Regions from separate parts of the Homo sapiens genome. Here all the other regions are linked to region 4. Evidence: promoter capture Hi-C in 16 types of primary human blood cells and fetal thymus (Javierre and others, 2016). All regions are on one chromosome and are shown on one strand. Each heading gives the region's core, a stretch centred on a gene start or on the middle of the fragment in contact. The rest is flanking DNA. Distances are from core to core; before and after follow the strand shown.

Region 1 (2,700 bases), core at 201-2,700, 460 kb after region 4:
TTGCCCAGGCTGGAGTGCAGTGGCGCGATCTTGGCTCACTGCAAGCTCCGCCTCCCGGGTTCACGCCATTCTCCTGCCTCAGCCTCCCGAGTAGCTGGGACTACAGGTGCCCGCCACCACTCCCGGCTAATTTTTTGTATTTTAGTAGAGACGGGATTTCACTGTGTTAGCCAGGATGGTCTCGATCTCCTGACCTTGTGATCCGCCCGCCTCGGCCTCCCAAAGTGCTGGGATTACAGGTGTGAGCCTTTGCACCCGGCCGGGTTCTTTGTTTCTTTGAATCAACGTAACCACGACTACAATCACAATAGAGAACTTTTTTGTTTGTTTGTTTGTTCGTTTGTTTGTTTGTTTGAGATGGAGTCTCGCTCTGTCACCCAGGCTGGAGCGCAATGGCGTGATCTCAGCTCACTGCAACCTCCGCCTCCTGTGTTCAAGCTATTCTCCCGCCTCAGCCTCCCGAGTATACTGCTGGGATTACAAGTGCGTGCCACCACGTCCGGCTAATTTTGTATTTTTAGTAGAGATGAGGTTTCACCATGTTGTCCAGGCTGATCTTGAACTCCTGACCTCAGGTGATCCGCCCGCCTCGGCCTCCGAAAGTGCTGGGATTACAGGCGCAAGCCACAGCTCCCGGCCCGATAGACAACGTTTCTACACCCCAGGGCAGAGTTCTTTCATTCCATCTAGCAGTGTCTCATCCCCTTGCCCAGTCGGTTATATAGTTGTAGCCTGCCTGCTGCGCCCACCCCTGCTTTCATCTTTGTGGAGGACGCAGTGTCGCGGTTAAGATCGCTGGTTCTGGAGCCACGTCACCTGGGGTCAACCCAGGCTCTGACCCCTGGTAGCGATGCAGTGGCATCTGGGCGGGTCCTGCAGGCGCTAGCTGTCACTGTCTCTGTTATTCCAGTTTCGCGATCCCGAGTACGGGGAATGGTTTGGCTACCTGAGCCGAGAGGGCAAGGTGGCCCTCTCCATCAAGGGAGGTCCTTTCAAAGGTGAGTGGGGGAGAGGGCGGGGCCGCAGGGGTTGCGCCTCTCGGCTGCCCCCGGCCCTCACTACCTGCCCGCCTCTACCCGCAGGCTGCTTCCACGTGCCGCGGTGCCTAGCCATGTGCGAGGAGATGCTGGGCGCCCTGCTGAGCCGCCCCGCCCCCGCCCCCTCCCCCGCCCCCACCCCCGCCTGCCGAGGCGCGGAATAAAGGCTGAGTCCGCTCCACCTGCGGCTGTGCGCGCGTCTGTGGGCTCGCGGGAGGGGGGCTGTCGCGCCGAGGGAGGGGCCGGCTCCAGCTCCGGGGCAGCGCCCGCCCCGCCCCCAGGCCCGCCCCGCGCTGACCGGCTCCGCGCATTGGCCCGCCCCGTGCGCTGGCCTGTCCCGCGCATTGGCCAAGCGGCCGGGAGGACGGGCCCGGCGGCCGTGCACTTCCGGCCGGTGGCCGGCCCGGCGCGCACCGCCCCTTCCGCCGTCGCCCAGCGAGCCCAGCTCCGGTCCCAGCCCCGGCCGTCCCGGCGTCGCTTCGGAGCGCGGCGGCAGCTGACTGCGCCTTCACGATCCGCTGGGACCCGCGAGCCCCGCCGCCGTTATGAACATCCGCAATGCGAGGGTGAGCGCCCGGGGCGGGAGGCTGTCCGCGCCGCGTGGGCGCCGGGCCGGGTGGCTGCCGCGCATGCTCCCGAGGGCCCCGGCCGAGCCCGGCCCGGTGGCCCTGAGTGTGCCTGCGGCCGCTGGACCTATGGGGCTGGCCCAGCCCGCCGAAGAGGCCGGGGCGCGGGGCCGGGGCTGCGATTCCCTCCTGTTTGCGTGATGTCGGGCCTCCGTTGGGTGGGCTCCGGGGACCTCCGGGGCGCCCACTCCTGTTCCTGTGCTCCGGGCGTTGTGCAAAGTCAGATCGTCACAGTGCCTGCCCAGCCCCGAGGGAGCGGGGCCGAGCAGACCGACGGGGAGCAGGCTTCTCACCCGTGGTCACCGCCGCCTTAGACTGAGCGCGTTCCACTGCCCTCCTTCCCTGCAGCCAGAGGACCTAATGAACATGCAGCACTGCAACCTCCTCTGCCTGCCCGAGAACTACCAGATGAAATACTACTTCTACCATGGCCTTTCCTGGCCCCAGGTGGGCAGCTTCTGAATTTGGGCATGGGGGAAAGCAGGCCGAGGAAAATCCCATCTGGCCATCTTGGAGGGAGTGGACAAGTCTGTCAGAGCCCAGGGGGCTGTATGGTCGGTGGCGTCCTGGGTGTTTTCAGCTGGCAGACAGGGGCAAAGGAAAAGAAGGCGCCCGAAGGGAGCAGAGAATAGGGGCAGGATCCCCACTTTGCGTCTTCTTTCTGGGTATGGGCAGGGCACAGTGTGGCGAGGGGGAGACCAAGCCACTCAGCCCGGAGGTCATGAGCCATCACACAACTCGCCACTCGTCCAGTTTGTGTCCCTCTAAAGGGCTCTTCTAGCTCCGACAAGAAGTTTTCTCACTCTGTTTTCCTGTCACCAGCTCTCTTACATTGCTGAGGACGAGAATGGGAAGATTGTGGGGTATGTCCTGGCCAAAATGTGAGTCACCAAGGAGGAAGACAGAAGCTACACGTGTCTGGTGGATGCCTCTGTGGGCTTTAAAAAAAATGAATAGGCTTCTTCTTTTCAGTACAGTTGAAAGTTTATAGAAAAATTGAACAGAAAGGACATGGAGTTCTTATAGCACCCCTCAGC
Region 2 (2,700 bases), core at 30-2,529, 360 kb before region 4:
CTTTCCCCAGGCTGGAGTGCAGTGGCAGAAACTCGGCTCACTGCAACCTCCTTCTCCAGGTTCAAGCAATTCTCCTGCCTCAGCCTCCCGAGTAGCTGGGATTACAGGCGTATACCACCACGCCCACCTAAATTTTTTGTATTTTTAGTAGAGACGGGGTTTCACCATGTTGGCCAGGCTGGTCTTGAACTCCTGACCGCAGGTGATCCGCCAGCCTGGGCTGGGATCACAGGCCTGAGCCACCGCGCCCGGCCCTGTGCTATATTTTTACTGTCCTTTTTCTGCTTAGACATGTTTAAGTACACAAACTCTCGACGCTGTGTCCCAACTGCCTACAGCATTCCGCACAATACCATGCTGTCCAGGTTTGAAGCCTAGGAGCCATACGCTACACCATATACAGCCTAGGTGTGTAGTAGCCTATGCCACCTAGGTTTGTGTAAGAGCCCTCTGATGTTCACACAATGATGAAATCGCCTAACGACCCATTTCTTAGAACGTATATCCGTAGGTAAGCGAGAAAACAAGGTGTGTAAGGCCAAATGTATGGGTCCCATGGCTGGGTAACTGACTGTAGGCTACTGCACGTGTCGGCTTCCCTTCCGGTTCACCACGTGGCTATGGCAGAGCTTAAACATCCCACAGAAGCGCTCACGCAGGGGGCCGGAAAGTTCCATAAGCGACCACTCGACTGTCCCCGCGGGCTTGTGGCCTCTAGAACTTTCTTGCAACTCGGAGCTCTATCCCTGCTCCGGGGTCCCTCCGCTCCTTTTCTTCTCGGCCCGTTTCCACTACCCTTGCTCCCCTAGTCGCATGGAGCTGTAACGGCGGCGTCCGGGCTGGCAGCAGCACAGACACTGCCACGTCCCACGCCACCGCGGGGTGGGCAGCACGGCAGATGTCTTTCGACGGCGACCCGGACCCCAGGGAGGTGAGAGGGCCGAGCCCCATCATGCCAAGTCACCGCGAGGGGCTCCCACTCTCGCGCCCTTGCCACGGAGCCAGGGCCGAGAGACAAGGCCGGCTTAAGGCCGGGCGGTGAAGAGGCCGACACGCCGGCGGGAACCAGAGGGAGGCGTGCGCGGGCCCCGATACCATCCCCCCACCCCCGTTCCCCGAGTCGCCCGGAGTTAGCACGGCCCGGAAGCCTGCAGCCCTTACCTTCCGCATCCGCCATGTTACCCTGCACCGCGTGCGTGCCGCCCGGTCCACAGCCGAGGGAACGACCGCAGACTCCCGCCGCCTTGGTCCCGTCAGGCCGCGCTGCTAGGACCCACCCACCCGCGCACTGCCCTGTGCGTGCCTTGCCGCGGGGCGGGAGGAGGCGGGGCCATCCCGGGGGCGGAATCCGAGGCGCCCGCTGGTCGTCTGCGCAATGCGATTTGCTGGCTCGGCCAGTACGGAGGGCGAGACCGCGCATGCGCTTCGAGCCTCAAGCAGCCTGGTTGGCCCAGGCTGGAAGCGCGAGTGCCGCCCGCCCCGACAGCCCGGAGTCTGTGGGCGTGGCCCCAGCTGTAGTTGCTTCACCTCCGGGTTTAGCTCCGCGCCTGCGCCTGGGCTCACGGCTGAACGCTCCGTAAACAGTACCTCTTTCTTTGCTTTCTCACACCGACCCTTTCAGGTTGCTGTTGGATCAGTCCTGATGCATAAGTGAACATGTTGAAGCTCGGAGAGGTTGAAAGGCCTTTGCTGCTTGCAGTTCCCATCCAGCTAGAGCAGATGGCCAATAGGAGTAGTGTGCGTGCCACATGTTGACTTTTAAATTTTCCAGCAGCAACATGAAAGAAGAGTAAAAAGAAAAAGGTGAAAATGATTTATAATGAATTTTTTTAACCCAGCGTATCCGAAATATTATCATTTCCACATATAGGCAAAACACAACAGTATGAATGGGGTATTTTACATTGGTTTTTTTTTTTTGTCCCCGCAAAGACTTTCCGGTGTGTGCGTTTATGCTCACAGCACACCTCAATTTGAACTCTACGACCGGGCTTCACGCCAAACAGCAGAGACAAAGCACTGGCACTAAATCTCATAGAAACAGGATGAGCCTGGGTATCATGATAGGCAGCAGGGCTGGAAGCTGGAACCAAACTGATTTCTCCCCAGGGATCTTTGGTGGTGTCTAATTGATCACAGTGTCCTGTAGTAAGCCATCATGATCTGTATAACCCCGGTAACTCTAGGTCTGGCTAAAGGCATTCTGCCTTGAATCACCACAATGGAAAATCATGGTGCCTCATCTAATTCCCAGATCTAGTCAGTCCACAGGCCAGAGCCCGTGAGGTGAGCCTGTAAAGGTGAGGCCAGGCACATGTAACGCTACAAGTGTGTACTTTCAGCCTGCCTCCTCCCTTCTCGTGGGACCCGTGGCCATTTACCAGGGGCTTGCACTAGCCCGTGTGAATCACTGGGGAAGTAGAATGCCACTTGGTCCAATGGTCAGAAGTGGAGTCAGCCCACGTCCCTTTCACTATCAGCCACCCTGTGGCTCTTTCCCCGGTTCTTGAATCCATACTTGTAATAAACACAATTGGTAGCTGGATAAATTCCCAGAGGGGCTTCCTGACTCAAGGACTGAGGGTGATAATGGAAGGAAAGAACAAAGGAAGCCTCTGGCACATTATCATAATTGAGTCCCTGGGAACTGATTTGATCATCTCACTGTACCCCAAGACATCATGCTGAGTGGACCTGATG
Region 3 (2,700 bases), core at 40-2,539, 260 kb after region 4:
GCATCCAAGGCCACCATGCTATTTGGAAGCCCTTTGAGAACACGAAGTGCCCTATGAAGTGGGGGTCCAGCAGAGGAGGAGTGGGGTGTCTGGGGGAAGCCCCCAGCCTTGCCTGAGCCCCGGAGCTGGCCCTCCGCTCGCCCTGTCTGCCCTTGTCCAGGATTACGCTAATGACCCAGCTCAGTGCAATCCCACCAATGCCCTGGGCCACACGTGTGCCAGCCCCCACATCCCAGGAAGGAGAGTGGAGGTGGCAGAGGTGGGAGGAGGCCTGGAAAGGCGGTAGGTTCTGCACCTTCACCGGCTCTGCTAATTGATGATTAGGGCTAACAGAAGATCAAGTCCCATTTTAGCCTAAAGCAGATTACTGTCCTAGAAAGTCACTCAGCACCTGTGGGGGCACGTGTGTCCCCAGGCCAGGTGAAAACTCATTTGTGGTCCCACACTCTTGCAGAAGGGTGGATGAAAGTGGAGGGAGCACTAGAGAAGGATATGAAGAACGAGGGGGTGAGGGGGTGGGATGGGGGGAGAGGAGCGGGAGCAGTGGCGGCCCAAGAAAGCCCCAAGGAAAGAGGGCCCCTGGGGAAAGGCCAGAGGGACCCAAGCCAGGCCGGGCCCCAATGTCAGCGCCCTCTGCTCTGCCCGGAGTCTCCCACCCTCGCTGCCAGCTGGGGCCCTGGCCAGGGTGGAAGATTAGATGTTGGACTTGTCTCTAATGCGACTACTCCTAAATGACTCCACGCGGGAGAGCCGATTAGGAGTTATGGGGGCTGCTGTCATCTTGACTCAGGGGCTTTGTCACTAACAGCCGATGGCTGCTACAGCTATAGGACAAGGAACCATTTGGCCATTTGCCTTTGACACTTTAAAAAGATCGTGGTAAAATATACATAATACAAAGTGTACCATCGCTACCGTGTGTAAGTGTATAGTCCAGTCACCACCATCCGTCTCCAAACTCTTTTCATTGCATGAAACGGAAGCTCTGTCCTCATGAAACACCCATGCCCTTTCCCCACCCCTCAGCCTCCTGCACCCACCCTTCTATTCCTATGCATTTGGGAGCTCTGAGTGCAATCCTACGGGTGCATGGCCTTCTGTGCCTGGCCCGGATCACTTATCCGTTGCCTTTGTGTATTTGGAATGGATATCCAACCATTGGATTTTCATTTTTGTGTGGTTAAACATCATTTGTTCCCTTTTTGACTTCTGACCTTCCTACCTCGTTTGAAGAGGTCCGTAAACGCACACCGTACTCCGCCCTCTGCCCCAGCTGCCGGGCTCTCCACACTTGCCAAGGCCCCCTACTCGGTACAGTCTTGATATTCTCAGCTCAGCCTCATAATCTCACCCTGGCTGCTGTAGGCCTCCTAAGTCCCTGCCCGTCCAGCCGCTCTAAGTCACAGAGTGTGAATGTGGCACGTCCACCCTCTGTGTCCTTGAGCGTGGTGGTCACTGTGTCCTCATCAGGAAGATGGGGATAACATTTACTTGCTGTAAGGCTTAAATAAGATCATCCTTTTAAAGAGTCTTAGCTCAGTCTTTGGTACAGAAAACTCAGCCAATTATTCATTCAGTGGGTACTTATTAGGTACTTTTGTACCTGTTCTAGGTCCCGGGATGCAGCTGCAGATGGAGATCCCGTGCTCCGCAGCTGCAGCTGCCTTTCTAGTTGGGGGAGATGAGTAGGATGGAGAACAGAAAAAGGAAGACAGGAGGGTGCGGGTGCCAGGGTGGGAAGGGAGTGGATGCCCACTTTCGAAGGGCACCAGGGTGAGCCCCTCTGAGAAGGGGACATGTGAGCAAAGACTCGAGGGAGGGAGGGCAGGAGGGAGCCATGCAGAGATCCAGGAGGGCATCACAGGAGAGGGGCAGCAAGTGCAAAGGCCCTGGGGCAAGAGCGTGGCTGGCCTGCTCCAGGACCAGCAAGGATATCAAGATGGCTGGAGCGAGAGTGGGGTTGGTGAATAGGAGGAGGAAAGGCTGCATGGCGGGGCCCTTCTCACTCTGAATGGAATGAGGAGCTTTGTCGGATTTTGAAAGAAAAAGTGACGCAATCTGAAGTTGATTCGGATGGACTCCTCTGGCAGCTGTCTGCGAGCTGTAGGGGCCAGGGCAGAAGCGGGGAGACCAGGTCTGGGAGGCGACAGTAGGGTGGTAAGAGGTAGCAGACTCTGGAGAGCTTTTGTAAGTGGAGTCAACAGGATTTCCTGGTGGCTTAGGTGGAAGCAGCGAGAGGACAGGAGGAGTTGCCCTCAGCTGAGAAGTCGAGGTTGTGGGCATCAGGCATCCATAAATAACGAACATGGGGACTGGCAAGGGGCCCTCGCCTCACAGCCATTGACATCCTTCACAGATCCTGACTAATGTGAACATTTGGATGGAATGGACAAACTTTTAGGAAAACACAACTTACCAAAATGGGCTCAAGAAGAAAGAATCAGAAGAGTTGAAGTCGCTGAACCTTTCATGTCAAACCTGCCCACAAAGAAAGGGTCCCTGTTCCGTTTCTGACCTTTGCCCAGGTTGACATTGATTCTGAGCCTGTCATGTCTTTCTTTCTTTGTTTCTGACATGTCTTTTTTTTTTTTTTTTTTTGACGTGGAGTCTCACTCTGTTGCCCAGGCTGGAGTGCAGTGGCGCGATCTTTGCTCACTACAACCTCTGCCTCCCGGGTTCAAGCAATTCTCCTCAGCCTCA
Region 4 (2,729 bases), core at 18-2,517:
GAGCACGGAGGAAGGACTGGGGGGTGACGAACAAAGAATCCTGCCTTACCTTCAGAGGACAGCTGCTCATATTCATCTGACACCATGTGGCCACAAAGCGGAAACTCATCCACTTTTGCCTTTTTCCGCCCCAGGTCAAAAATGCGAATCTTGGCATCTAAAAGGATTGGGTAAGTGTGCAGGGGGTGTCACAGACGGACGCGGAGTCCGCAGAGCCAACCAGTGCAGGGGCTCTTCCACTACTTACCAGGGACACCTCGGCAGAAGCGAGACTTTGGGTACGGCTTGTTCTTACAATACCGGTAACTGCAGGGGAGTGAAAAAACACAGGTTAGGTGAGGTTCACAGAAAGCCCAACAGGCACTTTGCCCCTCAAGGAACAACCCAAACGAGGGACGGGAAAAGGGTGGGGAATGCACGTCCACTTCTAAACCGTTTCCATTCGGGGAAATAAACTACAAAGCAACAGTTGGCTGCTGCAACACAGACAACACCCAAGACTAGAAACAACAGACACCATCTTCCGTTACTTTGTCTTACGCTTCCTATAAACACTTTGCAACAAACTTTCCTAGTTAAAAATTCTCTCTTCAAGACACTGCGTACTACAAAATCGCCGCATTATCATTGCACAGCTCAGGTCACCCAATTTAAGACTTTCGGGCACGTGGCACTAAATCCACCTCCAAGCCGAGTGGAAATGCGTCTGGCGCCCCCTGTAGGACACAGGAGGCGGCCGCACCCGTTTTTCCCGGACTGCCCTTCACGTCCGACAACGCACGCGGCACGTCGCCCGGAAATAAGACAGAGAACGCACACAAAGGCCCCAAGAGCGTATCTAGCGCCCGAAAATGCGGTGAGCTTGCAGGACACAGGCAGAGATACGAGGGAACCGTCGCTTCCACACCGACACGGGAACGAAGGAACAGACAGTAATATTGCAGACTAAAAAATAGCCGGGAGGTGTAAAACATAGGGTCAGTTCCCAAGACAGGGCCGCCGCACGGGGGAGGCTCCACCCCACAATTGTTTTCAGCGGCCATAGGCACTTCTTTCCCCGCCCGTTTCCCAGCAGTGAAAGTACACGGATTCAAGACTCACCAACGGGCGGGGCGGCGGCCCATGGCGACACCAGGATCTTCAGTGGCTGCAACGAAAAAGAGAGAGTCGGAACGGAAGACGAGAACAGACCTAAAAGGTGTGAGAACCAGCAACGGCACCGCAAGAGACGACAACTGCGCTTACTCACCACACCGAAGGGAAAGAGGCGCTCCTCCGCCTGCGCATGGCTTATATAGGCGGTCTGTCTGCGCGCGTAAGAACCATAGAGTCCTGTCGAAGACGGGTGGACGCTCTGTCAGACGTCATGACCATAGACGCAGCCGCTCTTGGCGCTTGCGCCCGGGCGTAGCCCAGCACATGCGCAGATCAGAGAGGTGACCGGGTACCAGGGCCGCGGGCGGCCAGCTGACGAATGGGGCTTCGCCACATGGTCGCGAGAAGCCCGCTTCCGGCTGGCCATCTTGGGCGTAGAACTCTTGCCCTAGGCTTTGCCGTTAACTGTGACAGACGTATATTTCTGAGAGTGGAAAAAAGGAAAGTACCCTAGGTGGGCCTCCCGGCGACCGCGAGAGTGTCCCTGAGCTTGCACGGGTCTCGGACACGCGCTCCGTGCCTCCTTCTAGGCTAGAGGCCCCGGCGGTGAAGCGCCATACGGGGATCTGGGCCCGCGTTCCTTTGTCAACCCGGGAGGCCGGAGGGGGAGACCCATTCCCCTACCGGAGAGGCTGGACCAGGCCTTGCTGGGAGCCATGCCCCGTATCCCCGTTTCCTGGAGACCCAGGGTTCGCACATTGCCGCGGGGAAGAGGTCGAGGAGAAATCTCCACGGAGACTCATGGCCTGGGAAACCCCGGGGCATCTCTAGCCCCGCTCCGCCCACCCTGACCCGCACCGTCCCGACCAGCTGCGTCTCGGGCGCCGCCTCCCATGAGCCGCTCTCGCCTGGGCACCGCCCCACCTCGCCCTTCCCACTCCACTGTGCTCAAGAGTCCCTCCGGGTGCGTCTGGGGGTCGTGGGGAAGCAGGGCCGCCCCCACCCGCCCACGGGGCAGCATCCGGGGAGAGGTGCGCAGAGCAGGCGGGCGTCCTGGGGGAAGTGGCATCTGGAGGTATCTGTCCACCATTCTGCAGGTGGGGCGCGGTGGGGTAACAAAGTCTTCCCGTCCTTTGACAGGAAGGACGGGAGGAAATCCTGCTCGAGCGCACCTGTTTTCCAGGATGATATGTCGCTTTTATAAATGGCTGCAGGTCCCTTTGAGAAAAGCTTGGGACGATTTCTGGGGTGCACTTGCAGCAGTGGTGCAAGGTCCTTCCCAGGGGAACCTAGCCTCCCTTTCCATCATGGGACTCTGGATGCCGGCGGTGACTTAGGTCTGGAAACTGGGTTCGAGGCTGTAACACCACTGGGGCAGTACAAGTCAGGAATTGCGGCGGAGTGCCGTGGCTCACGCCTGTGATCTCAGCACTTTGAGGGGCGGAGGTGGGCGGATCACTTGAGCCCAGGAATTTGAGACCTGGACAACATGGCGAAAAACCGCCTCTACAAAAATTAAAAACTAAAAATTGGCTGGGCGCAGTGGCTCACGCCTGTAATTCCAGCACTTTGGGAGGCCGAGGCGGGCGGATCATGAGGTCAGCAGATCGAGACCAGCCTGGCCAACATGGTGA
Region 5 (2,700 bases), core at 1-2,500, 490 kb after region 4:
CGGTGGCGGTCCAGCGTCATGGCCAGGATCATGTAGGAGGAGGCATACATGCCCACCATCTGCAGATACTTCACGGCCCGACACAGGGCATCTGGCCCACGGAAGCGGTCGGTGGCCTTCCAGGCCAGCTGGGGCAGCACTTGGAACAGAGCCACGGCCAGGTCGGCCAGGCACAAGTGGCCAATGAAGACGTGTATGGGTGCCCAGTGGCCCCGCCGGCCCCGCCGAGCTAGGGCCGCCAGCACCAGGCCATTGCTCAGGGCCACAGCCACAAAGACTATGGAGAGCAGCGCCAGCTCCGCCCGGGCTAGCAGCGGGTCCCGGGTGTCCAGTGGCCTCTCCTGGCTGCTGTTGCTGGGCAGGCTGGGCAGAGAGGGATGCCCAGGCACAGCTGGGAAGGAGTCGGGAAGAGGGCCTGGTTAGAGAGGGTGCTGTGCAGGGGGACTCAGGCCTGCCTCCCGTGCCCCCATCCGGACACCCACTTCCTGGCTCCTAGCAGAGGGGACTCCAGGAAAGCCATGTTATGAGGGATACACACCCCAGGCTCATGCAGTCCAGAAGGAAGGGCAGCCCCAGCCCCAGCCCCAGCCCCAGCCCTGGCGGGGAAGTGGGGCTGTGCTCCCCTCCCCACTCATTGGCAGCCTGGAGAGACACACCCAGAGGTGAGGGTGAAGGAGGTCTTTAGAAAGAGGGGCTTCCCTGAATCGTCAAACCCACTCTGCCCACCGGACTCATGGAGGGGCAAGCCTTACCGGAAGTGGTGGACGCCATGAGCATGGTGGGGCTGGGGCAGGTGTTCTGAGGGCCTGGAGGTGATGTGCGGACTCAGCCTCTGCCTGAGGAGCAAGTTCAATGGCCCAGGGTCTCTGGACTGGAGCCCTTATAGAGATGCCAGCATGGCAGATGCCTGTTGGCGTGTGTGCACGTGTCGGTGGCAGTATGGCCAGTCCTGGGCAGGGAAGATTGAGAGGGATGGTCAGACAGACGGATGCACAGAACCCAGGATCCCCCAGGCAGCCCATGAGTCCCGGGTTTGGGAGTGGGCACCCCAGACAGACACGCAGAACTCCCCTGCCCCAACCGAGGCCGAGAGAGGCCACCATCCGAGGGCTGGGGACTGGGCAGGGGGGCAGGCAGGCGCAGCCCCTTACCTGGCTGGGCTCCTGGGCAGCTGGGCGGTGGCGTGAAGGTGGCTGGGTGCTCAGATCTGCTCTCCATCGGCTGCCCTGCCCTGGCCCAGCCCAGCCTCTGGGAGTGACCTGGCCAGGAGGGGACTTCCTCCCCCTCCCCCTTTCCCCCAGGCCTCCCCTGGCCTCCTGTTTCCCTTCCTTTCCCCAGGGCCTCCCTGGTCCCGGCCCAGGACTCCCTCCTCCCACTGCCATAGCCTCCACGCCCACCCTCACCCTACCACGCCCCCCTGGTTGGATTGTCTGGGTTGGCAGTGCTCTGGGAGGTCACTTAGTTCAGCATTCCCATTTTATAAGTGGGGAAACTGAGGCCAGAGAGCGGTGGGTCTGGCCCAGGACTGCGCTGCTTTTTCATGGGAGCTTCACGCCCCCTTCCCAAGTTGGGGTCCTCCTGCTCCTCGCTGGGCCCAGGCAAGGAAGGGGTGAAAACACTTTCGCTGGGCCCCTCCCAGGCCCACGCAGGCCCCTCCTCCTCCCCAGTTAGGGCCCAGTTGGCCGGAGACGAGGGACAGGAAAGGGAGGAGTGGGGCAGGGGCCAAGCCAGGCTTCACGAACCCCTGTGAGATCCAGGGACACCCCCACCCTCTTCCTCCTGCCCCACCTGCAACTACCTGTCCTAGGAAGAGGGGCTGGGGACCTCCGTGTGCTCACGGGCTCCCTCCCACCACACACAACCTCACATGATACAGCCACACAGCCACAAACACACAACACAGAGACGCTCGCTCATGTTCTTGAACATACCATGAGTATGGACGCACCTTCCCTGTACCTGAGCCCTCCTCCTCCCTCCCCCAACACCTCTCTCCTTCCCCTGTCCCCACACCCCCTCCAGCCCCCATCCCAGTAGTTCTCTTTCCACTCCCCCCGCACCCAGGCCTGGCTTGGCTCAGCCGAGGCCAGCCCAGCCCAGCCCAGCCCAAGGCAGCTGCTTTCTTCCTGTTTGTCTGTCTTCTCTGTTGCCTGTGAAGCCAGAGACCAAAACAGCCTCACGGACCAGGCCCAAGTCCGGCCCGCGGCCAAGGCCTCCTCTTCCTGCCCAGAGAGCCTGGCAGCACCCTGGCCCCTCCCGGCCCTGTTAGGGTGGTGGGAACACAGGGTGGGCATTTTCCAGAGACAGCGCACACACCACACCACATACATACATGCACACAGCCACACGCCACACACACATGCACCCACCACACACCCATACGCCACACCACACACACACCACACCATGCACACATATATTACACACCACACACATGCACACATCACACACTCCCATACGCCACACACCCACACATGTACCCACCACACAGCCATACACACCACATACGCACAGCCAACACCACACACGCACACACCCGCAGCACACACAGGTGCACATCACACCCCGCATCTTTGCCATGTTTTTGCAGAGCCCCTTGGGGGCAGGCTGCAGAGTGCTGGCACCCCAGGCCTGACGCTTCAGCTGCATCTCCTCAGCGCATGCACATCCTCATGCTGTCCCCAATAACCGCATGCTGTC

What was found. Contacts are between HindIII fragments. The CHiCAGO score rates a contact against its expected background, and 5 or more counts as called.
Region 1: the fragment with the promoter of NAA10 here is called in contact with the fragment with the promoter of RPL10 in region 4 in 11 of 17 cell types (naive CD8 T cells, non-activated CD4 T cells, neutrophils and 8 more); the score reaches 12.9 in naive CD8 T cells.
Region 2: a contact is called between the fragment with the promoter of DKC1 here and the fragment with the promoter of RPL10 in region 4, in 5 of 17 cell types (fetal thymus, activated CD4 T cells, naive CD8 T cells and 2 more). The highest score is 11.0, in fetal thymus.
Region 3: a contact is called between a fragment that was not itself captured here and the fragment with the promoter of RPL10 in region 4, in 10 of 17 cell types (naive B cells, activated CD4 T cells, naive CD8 T cells and 7 more). The highest score is 10.7, in naive B cells.
Region 5: a contact is called between the fragment with the promoter of AVPR2 here and the fragment with the promoter of RPL10 in region 4, in 2 of 17 cell types (naive B cells and total B cells). The highest score is 7.5, in naive B cells.

Annotation. Positions count from the first base shown.
Region 1 is chrX:153,933,787-153,936,486 of GRCh38, reverse strand. NAA10 (N-alpha-acetyltransferase 10, NatA catalytic subunit) reads left to right here and starts at 1,450. Exons shown (of 8, transcript NM_003491.4): 1 at 1,450-1,603; 2 at 2,012-2,110; 3 at 2,486-2,544. The coding sequence starts at 1,583. It overlaps RENBP (renin binding protein), which reads left to right. Exons shown (of 11, transcript NM_002910.6): 10 at 911-998; 11 at 1,083-1,218. The coding sequence ends at 1,201. RefSeq lists enhancers at 180-684, 685-1,190 and a silencer at 1,181-1,760. The HindIII fragment of the contact is 15,713 bases long and covers 1-2,700 here.
Region 2 is chrX:154,761,443-154,764,142 of GRCh38, reverse strand. DKC1 (dyskerin pseudouridine synthase 1) reads right to left here and starts at 1,279. Exons shown (of 15, transcript NM_001363.5): 1 at 1,162-1,279. The coding sequence starts at 1,177. RefSeq lists enhancers at 749-848, 1,599-1,658 and a silencer at 1,199-1,498. The HindIII fragment of the contact is 5,247 bases long and covers 1-2,700 here.
Region 3 is chrX:154,138,368-154,141,067 of GRCh38, reverse strand. No RefSeq gene overlaps it. Among named protein-coding and RNA genes, the nearest start is that of OPN1LW, 4.5 kb to the left of the region's middle. RefSeq lists cis regulatory regions at 1-506, 1-2,364. The HindIII fragment of the contact is 6,975 bases long and covers 1-2,700 here.
Region 4 is chrX:154,396,915-154,399,643 of GRCh38, reverse strand. It overlaps RPL10 (ribosomal protein L10), which reads right to left and starts at 1,267. Exons shown (of 7, transcript NM_006013.5): 1 at 1,250-1,267; 2 at 1,102-1,147; 3 at 248-306; 4 at 50-157. The coding sequence starts at 1,124. It overlaps LOC124905228 (a long non-coding RNA gene), which reads left to right and starts at 802. Exons shown (of 2, transcript XR_007068356.1): 1 at 802-2,059. RefSeq lists enhancers at 1-266, 267-812, 1,135-1,344, 1,357-1,902 and silencers at 1,905-1,974, 2,045-2,224. The HindIII fragment of the contact is 9,726 bases long and covers 1-2,327 here.
Region 5 is chrX:153,903,223-153,905,922 of GRCh38, reverse strand. It overlaps AVPR2 (arginine vasopressin receptor 2), which reads right to left and starts at 1,250. Exons shown (of 4, transcript NM_000054.7): 1 at 1,152-1,250; 2 at 753-949; 3 at 1-391. The coding sequence starts at 777. The HindIII fragment of the contact is 5,945 bases long and covers 1-2,700 here.